Linked DNA regions of Homo sapiens: region 2 is linked to region 1. The links are contacts of gene promoters, found by promoter capture Hi-C in blood cells and fetal thymus (Javierre and others, 2016). All regions are on one chromosome and are shown on one strand. The core of a region is centred on a gene start or on the middle of the fragment in contact, and the rest is flanking DNA. Distances in the headings are between cores, read along the strand shown. Region 1 holds the start of SYT2 (synaptotagmin 2). Region 2 overlaps LGR6 (leucine rich repeat containing G protein-coupled receptor 6).

Region 1 (4,472 bases), core at 980-3,479:
AGGCTGGGTGTGGAGGGGGTGGATGTCTTTTCCATTCTTTCCTCTTCCAGCTCCTGAAGCCTGGGGGAATAAGCAAGAGGGATGTTGAGCTCTTGATTAGGTTTGTAACCCAGACACTACTGGTCCTGATGAATTAAAAGAACATTAAGGCTGTAGCCAGCGACACCACATTTTTCATTTAACCAAATTGATTACAGCTCTGACTCTCCTAATAGCCTGGGAAGGCAGGCTGGCTTCCTCTGACGTGCTTAGGAGAAGAAGCTGGGGCACCAGATTGACACAAGGCTTTGATCAGAACAGTAGGCAGCTGAGTCTGCTGCCGTGGAAAAGTTGAAGCGCATCAGGCCAGTTCGCTTGGCTTGATTCTGTGCGAGGGGGCTGCAGCCCTCTTTCTGGCTGGAGTCCTGCAGATACTGGTTGTTGGCATGGGGAGCAGGAAGGAATGAATAGAGTAGAGCCAGCCCCTTTGGGGAAGCAACAAGTCCTGGAACACACCTGGCTAAGGGTGGGGGTGGTGGGTAACCTCTTTGAATGTAAAGGTCTCATTAGTCCATTGTAACTTGGCTCCCCATTTCCTCCACTGCCCTTGTTCTGGCTGCTCCACAGGTGAAGGGGGAGGGCCTCTGTGCCTCAGGGGCTGTGAGCACAGCTTCAGCCTGATTGAGGACTCCCCAGAGGTCTTCCCCCACCTTTTTCGTAACATCCACTGAGTCGGCAGCCACTTGCCGCCTTGCTCTGAGGCAAGCCAAACTGGGGATAGTCTCCAACTGGGGATGGTCTGCCAGTAACACCTGGTATTATTGGCACAGTGATCTGAAAAGTGCCCTCCACTGCCTCTTCTCTCCCCAAAGCCTGAATCCCACTTGTTCTTTGCATCTCCTCATATTGCATTCATTCCACCTCTCACTCACTCACCTAGTACGTATTGAAGACTGACCTCAGGCCATGTACGGTTTTGTACCCAAAAGCGAGGCAGGATGCTACAGTCCTATTATAAAAGTTAACTCCAGGCCAAGCGCAGTGGCTCATGCTTGTAATCCCAGCACTTTGAGAGGCTGAAGTGGGTGGATCCCTTGAGGTCAGGAGTTCGAGACTAGCCTGGCCAACATGGCAAAACCCCATCTCTACTAAGAATACAAAAATTAGCCGGGTGTGGTGGCGCACGTCTGTAATCCCAGCTGCTCGGGAGGCTGAGGCGGGAGAATCCCTTCAACCCAGGAGGCAGAGGTGGCAGTGAGCCAAGATCGCGCCACTGCACACTGCACTGCAGGTTGGGTAACAGAGTGAGACTTGTCTAAAAAAAAAAGAAAAAAAAAAGTTAACTCCAAAAGAGTTAAAGCGGATATTCAAATTGTGCTGTAAGGAAGTTCTGGTGCTGCCCTGGCAGCTCCTGGGTAGGTTAGGAAGGGCTCTGTTTTGCCCTTGCCACCCTTCTCTTTCTCCCAGGCTCTTCCGAAATGCCACCACTTAACTGTCTGCAGCTCCTTGGTCCAACGCACCATTCAGGGACTGTTTCCCCACCTGCAAACTGCCCACGCAAAATGCCCACCTTAAAGGGATGTCTTACGTATTAAGCAAACTAACATGTGTGAACACCCTGTCTTTAATAACCAGTAGCGTCCTCCTTTTCTTTCTACCGTCTTCCAGCTCCTCTCTCCTTGTCACCCTGCAGTTCTTACTCTCCCCTCCGCTGTTCTATTTCCATAGGCCTCAGGCACCGCTGTCTTCTCTCAAGCATCCTCCTCTCTCTCACCCAACCTTTAGGCTCAGAAGCCCCCACCATCCAGGTGGCCAATATAGGTAGCGGTGACCTAAGCGGAGAGGGGAGGAGGGGAGGCTAGGGGCTCAGGGATCCCAAAATGGCCATGGGGATGGGGGCTCCTGAGCCCAATAATTTAGCCTTGAGCTGCAGTGGGTTCGGGAAGTTGGAGAGAAGGAGCTGGCTAGAAAGGAGACCAGCCTTCTGGGGTGGGGAGTATAGAGCTCCTTTCCAGTCCGCCTTCCTGCTGGGGAAGCAGCCTCCTTGACCTTGAGCAGGAGGCGGGGGCGCCGAGCGCCTGGGGGGCTGCGCAGAAAGAACCCGTCCCGGGGGGCAGGCCCGCCCTCCGCCTCCTCCGGGCCTCCTCCGCCTCGGTCCCCGCCCTCCCACGCCGCTTGGTCTCCTCCCCTCACTGCAGCGCTCGCCGCGCGCGCCCATCGATCAGGCCCCCTCCCTCTGCCGCCTCGGCGCAGACTGCTAAGCTCAGCAAGTCTTGCGGCAAAGGCACTTCGGAGCCGAGTTGGGGCAGCGGTGGAGCGGGGACTTCGCGCCCCCAGGGGAACGGGCGCCCCTGCGAAACCGTCGCCAGCCACGCGTCCTTGCCGTCCGACGCCCCCTCACATTGGAGACCCCGGATCTCTCCCGCCTCCTTCGGGTCGCTCTCCGGTAAGTCCATACCCCCGCCGGTGGGGGCACGGACCTCCCTCTCCAAAGTTTCTCCTTTCCTGCTACTGAGTCGAGGGGCCACGGGGTGGTCTGGGTCCCGAGAGGTGAGTAGGGTTGGGGAAGTTTGAGGCCAAGGGGGCCGGGAGTCTGCCCCGTCCTTTGGGGGAGTTTGGAAGCGTCCGGATGGAAGGTTCGTCTCGGGGAGTCGGACCCGAGGGGCGAGGAGCCGGCTCCTCTGAGGGACTGGGGCTGGGCTGGGGGCAGATTTCCTCCCGCGGGTTGCTGCAGAGAGGGGCGGGCCACGCGTCCCCTGCACCGGCCGGCTCTGCGCCCCCGTCCCTCTCTCCTTTCCCTGGGACGAACCCACTCGCGTCTAGCCCAGCCCCCGCCAGCCCTAGCGGTCTCCAAGGAAGGTTCTTTTGCCCCAGTCTCAAGCTTCGGGGACCCCTGGCACCGCCGTCGTGGGAAGTGGGGCGGGGGGTGGGGTCTGGGCGCTGGGAGCCGGAGACCCTGGGTCAGGGAGAGGTTGGGGAGACAGACTGCAGGGGCCATCTGGAAGCAACGGGCACGAGGAGCTGGGGCAGGGGCCCAAGAAGGGGCTGGAGGCGCCCCTCCCCTCTCTCCAAATCTCATGACTCAGCACGACCTAGGACGCCCCGTCCCTGCTTCAGCTCTGTCCCCAAGGGCTAGGCTCGCAGCCTGGCGGGTGCTGACAGCCCGACTCCCTTTTCTGGACTCTTCCATGTACCTTTCCCATTTGGGGTGCCCCCTTCCCCTGCCTATGCTCCTTCCCCCACCTCTGGGGCACAGGGCTTTTATTTTTCAACTAAAAAGTGGAGCTTTATCGTTTCACATCCCACTAAGCCAGGCCCCCTCATCCTGTCTCCTCCCTTTTCATCCCCACATTCCACAGGTGCCTCCAGGACACCCCCAGCCCATGGCTCGTGGGGTGTCTCCTGGCAGGGCAGTGTCCTCCCTTACCCCTGGCTGAGGTGGCAGAGTAGGTGCTCTCCCCGCAGCAGGAGAAGGGAGTGCAAGGACAGAAGAGGTGCTGGCCCAGGAGGGGCCACTGCAGTGGGGAGGGAAGGGCAGAGGCCCCGTGGGCAGGTAGTACAGGTTGAGTTAGCTTATAAGGAGGAGGAAGTCCTTAGGATCTGGGGGCGCCCAGGAAGCCAGAAAGGTGAACTGGGGTCTGACCTGGAAAGCAAAAGGGTGCCCTTCTCCCTCCCCTACTGCTGCCGCCCTGCGGGGCCTCTCCCAGGTGGAATAGATTGTCCTCCATCCAATCTGTCTGGATCCCCATAACCTGGCACTTCATTAGAGGGGGTGACAGAAGCAGGGAAGCCCTTAATCCTTTCAACCATCTCTCCCTACTTAAGACTAAGTCCAGCTTTGGGGCTGCTAGAAACATCTCTGTGACCAGCAGAGGTGCTGAAAAAAGCCATGCCCAGTGCCCCAAAGGCGGGCCCGAGTGGCAGGTGGAAGGGGGCAGGGTGGCTCTGATGCAGTGGGACGTGCCTGGCATCCTGGTCCTGTGGAATGAGAGTGGTGGTCTGGCAGGCACTGCAAGCTGCAGCGTGTGTCAGGGCCCTGGGGGTGAGTCAGCGTCAGGGGTCCACGCCAGGCACACTGCAGCCTAGGGAGTCCAACTCCAACCCATCTCCTCCCATGCCCCTGGAAAATGGCCAGTGCCCACTGAACCCCGACTGAACCACCTTTCCCTCAGGGTGGCTGCCTCTGCTCTGCTTGGCTGCCAGGCAGATCCCTGGCTTCACCCTCTAGGACTCCCCCCAGAGGCTTGGCTTTTTCTGGAGATCTTTTGGGCTTAATCCTTACCTTCTCCCCTCCTTGTCTTGCCAAAGGAGGAGGAGAGGGAGGCAGAGGAAAGTTTCTAGGTTATAGCCTCACATAGACCTGGCCCACCATTCCCTGGAGGAAGAGAGACCAGACCACTCTGCTGGGAGTCTGCTTTGTTCTGCAGTCCAGGAGCTTGGTCCAGGGAACTTGGGTTTTCTTTTGGGGGAAGGGGGTGATTATGCAGGAACAT
Region 2 (4,540 bases), core at 477-2,976, 500 kb after region 1:
CCACCAGCAACAACATGGGTGAATCCTCAAACATGGTGAGGAAAAGAAGCCAGATGCAAAATAATGCCCCATTTATGATAAGGTTCAAAACACAGGCACAGCCTACCTATGTTGTTAGAAATCACGATCGTTGCTATCTTTGTGGGGGTGGGTAGTGACCAGCAGAGGGCATGGGGGTGGAGGGCTTCTGGAAAGCTGATGATGTTCTCTTTCTTGGTCCAGGTGCTGGTTACACAAGTGTATTTGCTTATGGAAATGTACCAAGCTATACACTTATGATATGTACGCTTTTCTATTATGTATATTATATTTAGTTTAAAAAAACAAACTCTGGGCCAGGCGCAGTGGCTCACGCCTGTAATCCCAGCACTTTGGGAGGCCAAGGCAGGCGGATCACTGGAGGCCAGGAGTTTGAGACCAGCCTGGCCAACATGGTGAAACCCCATCTCTACAAAAATATAAAAATTAGCCGGGTGTGGTGGCACATGCCTGTAATCCCAGCTACTTGGGAGGCTGAGTCAGGAGAATTGCTTGAACCTGGGGGGCTGGGAGGCAGAGGTTGCAGTGAACCAAGATCACACCACTGCACTCCAGCCTCGGTAACAGAGTGAGACTCTGTCTCAAAAAAACAAACTCTGAAAGTCTTCGTGAACCTCAGGCTTTCTGAGGGCTCCCCTCTAGGTTCCCATGGCATCTCATGAATAATTCTCAGTTTTTATGTCATTAAATGAAATTGGATGTTTATTTCTGTATATTGTTTCATCATACTCATCTGTGTATCCCCAGCACTTTCCCCAGGCTCTGGCACATAGTAGATGCTCAATAAACACTTGAGATTTGCTGGCATGGCCATGGGCTTTGGTGTTGCCAGGCTTCTCTCCCAGGGTTAACTGGCCATTGGCCCCAGTTCCCTGGATCTTCACAGGATTCCACAATGAGACACATTCCTTCCCACTGCTGCCCCATCCTACCCACCTTCTAAGTCCCCCCACAACCAGCCTATGCTTGTCTCCTGCCTCATGCTTAACGCACACAATGGTAATTTTCTGACCCAATTGTAATCTCTGTTAATGCAAAATTCAAGTCTTACTTATCTGGGATCTTCAGAGCCTAGGCAAGTGTCGGGCACACTGTGGAGATTCAAGAACCCACAGCCTCAAGTTGCTAGAGTCCTCTATCCAAGCCTAGGGGCAGGCACATACCTTTGTTCGTCCTAGCTTGTTTGGAATTGGATGGAAATTTTCAAAAGAAGTTTTCTTTAAAAAAAATCAAGAGAATGAATAGGAAAGGCAAAAGCTTCTAAGTGGAAGGGTTTATAGAACAGATGTCTCACTCTAATGAAACCCAAGCCTGGCCACGAGCTGACTGGCTGGCAGCTTAAGAGGCTCCCCAGTGCGGCTCCATCCTCACCGCAGCCGTCTGGGTTGGAAGCCACACCTCGGGCTCCTGCCTGTGGTGGAGCCAGGTTAGTGCTACTACCAGGTCTGAAGAGGGCTGCCCTCCCTCCCTCTCTCTCAAATAGGTCCATCTGCTCCAGCCTAGGGTTTTTGTTTTTTTTTTTTTTTCTGCTCTGTACCTCCCAGCCTCTGGCCAGTCATTTGTTCATTCATTCATTCACTCATTCATCTCTTTACTCATTCCACCAATATTTTTGAGCATCCATGTGCAGAGGGCTTGGGCCAGCACTGAGGATACCAGGAGAGCAATGGTGGCCAGGCCCCTGCTTTCTTGGGGGTCCCAGCCTGGTCTGAGAAACAGACAAGTAACCAGGAATCTGAACCCAAGGGAATGAGCCTTGCGGCAGGGCAGGCACACAGAGGGGAGGCCTCCCCCAGAGTTGAGGGATTAGGGAAGGTTTCCCAGAGGAAGAGACATCTCAGTCAGCCCCTTACATCCTAAATGAAGCTGATGCTTCCTTGCCTCTTCCAAATACCCCACCAGAGCAGCAGGCTTCTGGTCTGAACCCATTTCTTCACCACATCCTTGCAGTAAATCAACCGTGATGTCCATAGGGCTGTTTCTTATAGACCTGGATATAAACCAATGGTGCATCACCTAAGTACAAACTAGGTAAAAGCATTTCTGTAGGAGATGGAGTAGAGAGTGGCTGTCCAGCAGCTCCACTGATGATCTGACTTATTCCATGAATAAGCTTGAGGCAGTGCTTGGCAAACCCTAAAATGAAGATTCTGGCTCAGTAGGTCAGGGTTGAGGCCTGAGCTTCTGCATTCCTCACACACTCACAGATGATGCCGATGCTATGCTGCTGGGCTGTGAACCATACTTCGAGTGAAAGGCTTTAGGATATCCAAGGGAATCCATAGAATAAACCTCCTTTAAGCAATCTTTTATAAATATGTTTTAAATCACTTTTTTTAACTAAGTATTGACCAGGCTGACTCATAGAAATATGCCACTGTGGCCTGGTCTAGACAAAGGTGTCTGGCCAAGGGGCCAACCAGAGGACAAAATCTGCTCCTGCCCCACTCATCAACTCTGCCCGCTCCCCACGTGGTAGGGCCACTGGGGCAAGGGGCACCCTTTTCTATTTCTCACAAAGATGTTGCCTGGACTAGCTGCAGCCCAGAACACTGTGGGGCGGGCAGGCTGAGTGGATGTGTGGATTTCTGAGGAGGAGCAGGGAGAGGCCTCTGACCTCCTCAGCAGCAGGCAGCCCCTCCAGGATCCCTGGGGATGGCAGGTGTGGCGTCTCCAAGGTTGCCTTTATAGGCCAGGATCCCTTCCTCATGGAGAAAGTGAAATGAAACCCAGGTCACCCCACCATTGCCTATGGGGCTAACAAAGAAGGGGTTAGCTTTGGGCTCTCTCCCCTCTGGCCAAAATAGGAGGGAAACTTGGGGACACTATGATAGGAAGGAGGAGGGACTCTAGGAAGAACTTCCCAGTGATCACATTCCCAGGGGGTCAAACACTAAGCAAATGGTGGGGTGTAATGACTTGATCTGCCCATCTGGAGGTCCCAGCCGAGGTTAGGGGTAAGGGGCTGGAGTAAGGTGTCAGAAGGGCTCCCCAGGCCAAGTTTCTGAGCTTCCAAGCCTTCCCCTCTTACTACACTCTTTACCCCTATGGCTCTAGGGCCATTTGCTCATTGGCACTGGGCATGCTAGGGTTCCAGGGGTTAGCCCAGGTATTTCCTGACCCCAAGCCCCACCCCCAGCAGGTGCCCTGGGCCCCGCAACATGGTGCCTTTGCGCCCCCATGCCAATCTAGACAGTGAAGCTAATGCTTTCTGGCAGGTGGAGGCAGGGCAGGCAGAGGGGGAGGTGGCACCCTGGGCTTCTGCATTCAGAGTAGGGGAGTGGGCAACGAGGCGAGGGCTGGCGTGGCGTCGGCTGGCGGGGGGGTAGGCATTCCTCTTTCCACTGGCTGCACATAGTTAATGGGGGGCCTTGTTCTGGGTAGGCACACAGCCCTCGAGGTGCTGATGATGGCCATGTCCTATCCCGGCCCCTGGGATCTCAAGTCTCACGGAGTGAACACTGCAAATCTCAGGGGACCCTGGCACCTCCCTCACATCACAGTCTCCTCTTCATTGGCTCACTCATGCCCCTTCTCTCTCTCTCTCCCCCCTCCTTCTCCTCTCTCTCTCCCCTCTTTGTATCTTTCTTTATACACCATCATTTGTCTCTGTAATATCCTGGGGTCAGGAACTCTCACCCCACAGGAAACAGACCCAAAGGCATCAGAGGACTTGTCCAAAGGCACTCAGCATGTTGGCGGCAAAGACAGCGTCCTAGCCCAGGGTCTCCTGATCCCACTTCCACCAGAGAACAAACCTAAAGTTCCAGTTGCTGGAGTCAGGAGGGTTGCGACGAAATTGGAGGAGGGAAACTTTGGAAGCACCTCCTTCCTCCAGAGGACTCATGCAACTCCTCACTCCACAGGACAGAGAAAAACTGCAGCAGGAGGGTGGGAGATTGGAGGGAGAGGCTGAGCCAGCAGGGCTCTGCAGGTCAGTGGTAGGATTTCCCAAGTCCAGGCGCTCACTTGGGGCGTTACTAAGAATTTATCTCCACAGCTGGACCAGGGACTCTGTTTTTTGCAGTGAAAGTTAGTGTCAGCACCTAGCACAGCTGTGCCTACTACTAAGTGTATACTTAATACATATTCACAGGTTGAATAAATGAAAAATAATAGCTAACATCCATTGAATGGTTACTGTGTGCCAGACGCCGTTCTAGGCACTTTGCATATATTAACTCATTTAACAAGGGCATCGTTGTCATCCCTCTATTACAGGTGAGGAAACTAAAGCACAAAGAGGGTAAATCTTTCCCCAAGGATTGGTAAAAGGCAGAGCCAGAATCTGAACTTAGGTGGAGTGGCTCTGGGGTTTGTGCACTTACCCACTCTGCTAGATTTATAAGAAACTGGGAAGGAGGCCAACACACACAGGATCTGACATCTGTGGGATGGGCCCTCTGCCCTCCCTTTCAAGCAGAATCCCTGCCTGCCAGAGCCTGACAACTGCCTCATTCCCAGAAACACTGAGACTCTGGTGTGCCCCCTGTGCCCACTC

The links. Contacts are between HindIII fragments. The CHiCAGO score rates a contact against its expected background, and 5 or more counts as called.
Region 2: a fragment that was not itself captured here is called in contact with the fragment with the promoter of SYT2 in region 1 in 1 of 17 cell types (M0 macrophages); the score reaches 5.5 in M0 macrophages.

Annotation. Positions count from the first base shown.
Region 1 is chr1:202,708,211-202,712,682 of GRCh38, reverse strand. It overlaps SYT2 (synaptotagmin 2), which reads left to right and starts at 2,229. Exons shown (of 9, transcript NM_177402.5): 1 at 2,229-2,425. The HindIII fragment of the contact is 4,026 bases long and covers 1-2,862 here.
Region 2 is chr1:202,207,454-202,211,993 of GRCh38, reverse strand. All of the region lies in intron 1 of LGR6 (leucine rich repeat containing G protein-coupled receptor 6), which reads right to left. Among named protein-coding and RNA genes, the nearest start is that of LGR6, 16 kb to the right of the region's middle. The HindIII fragment of the contact is 856 bases long and covers 1,299-2,154 here.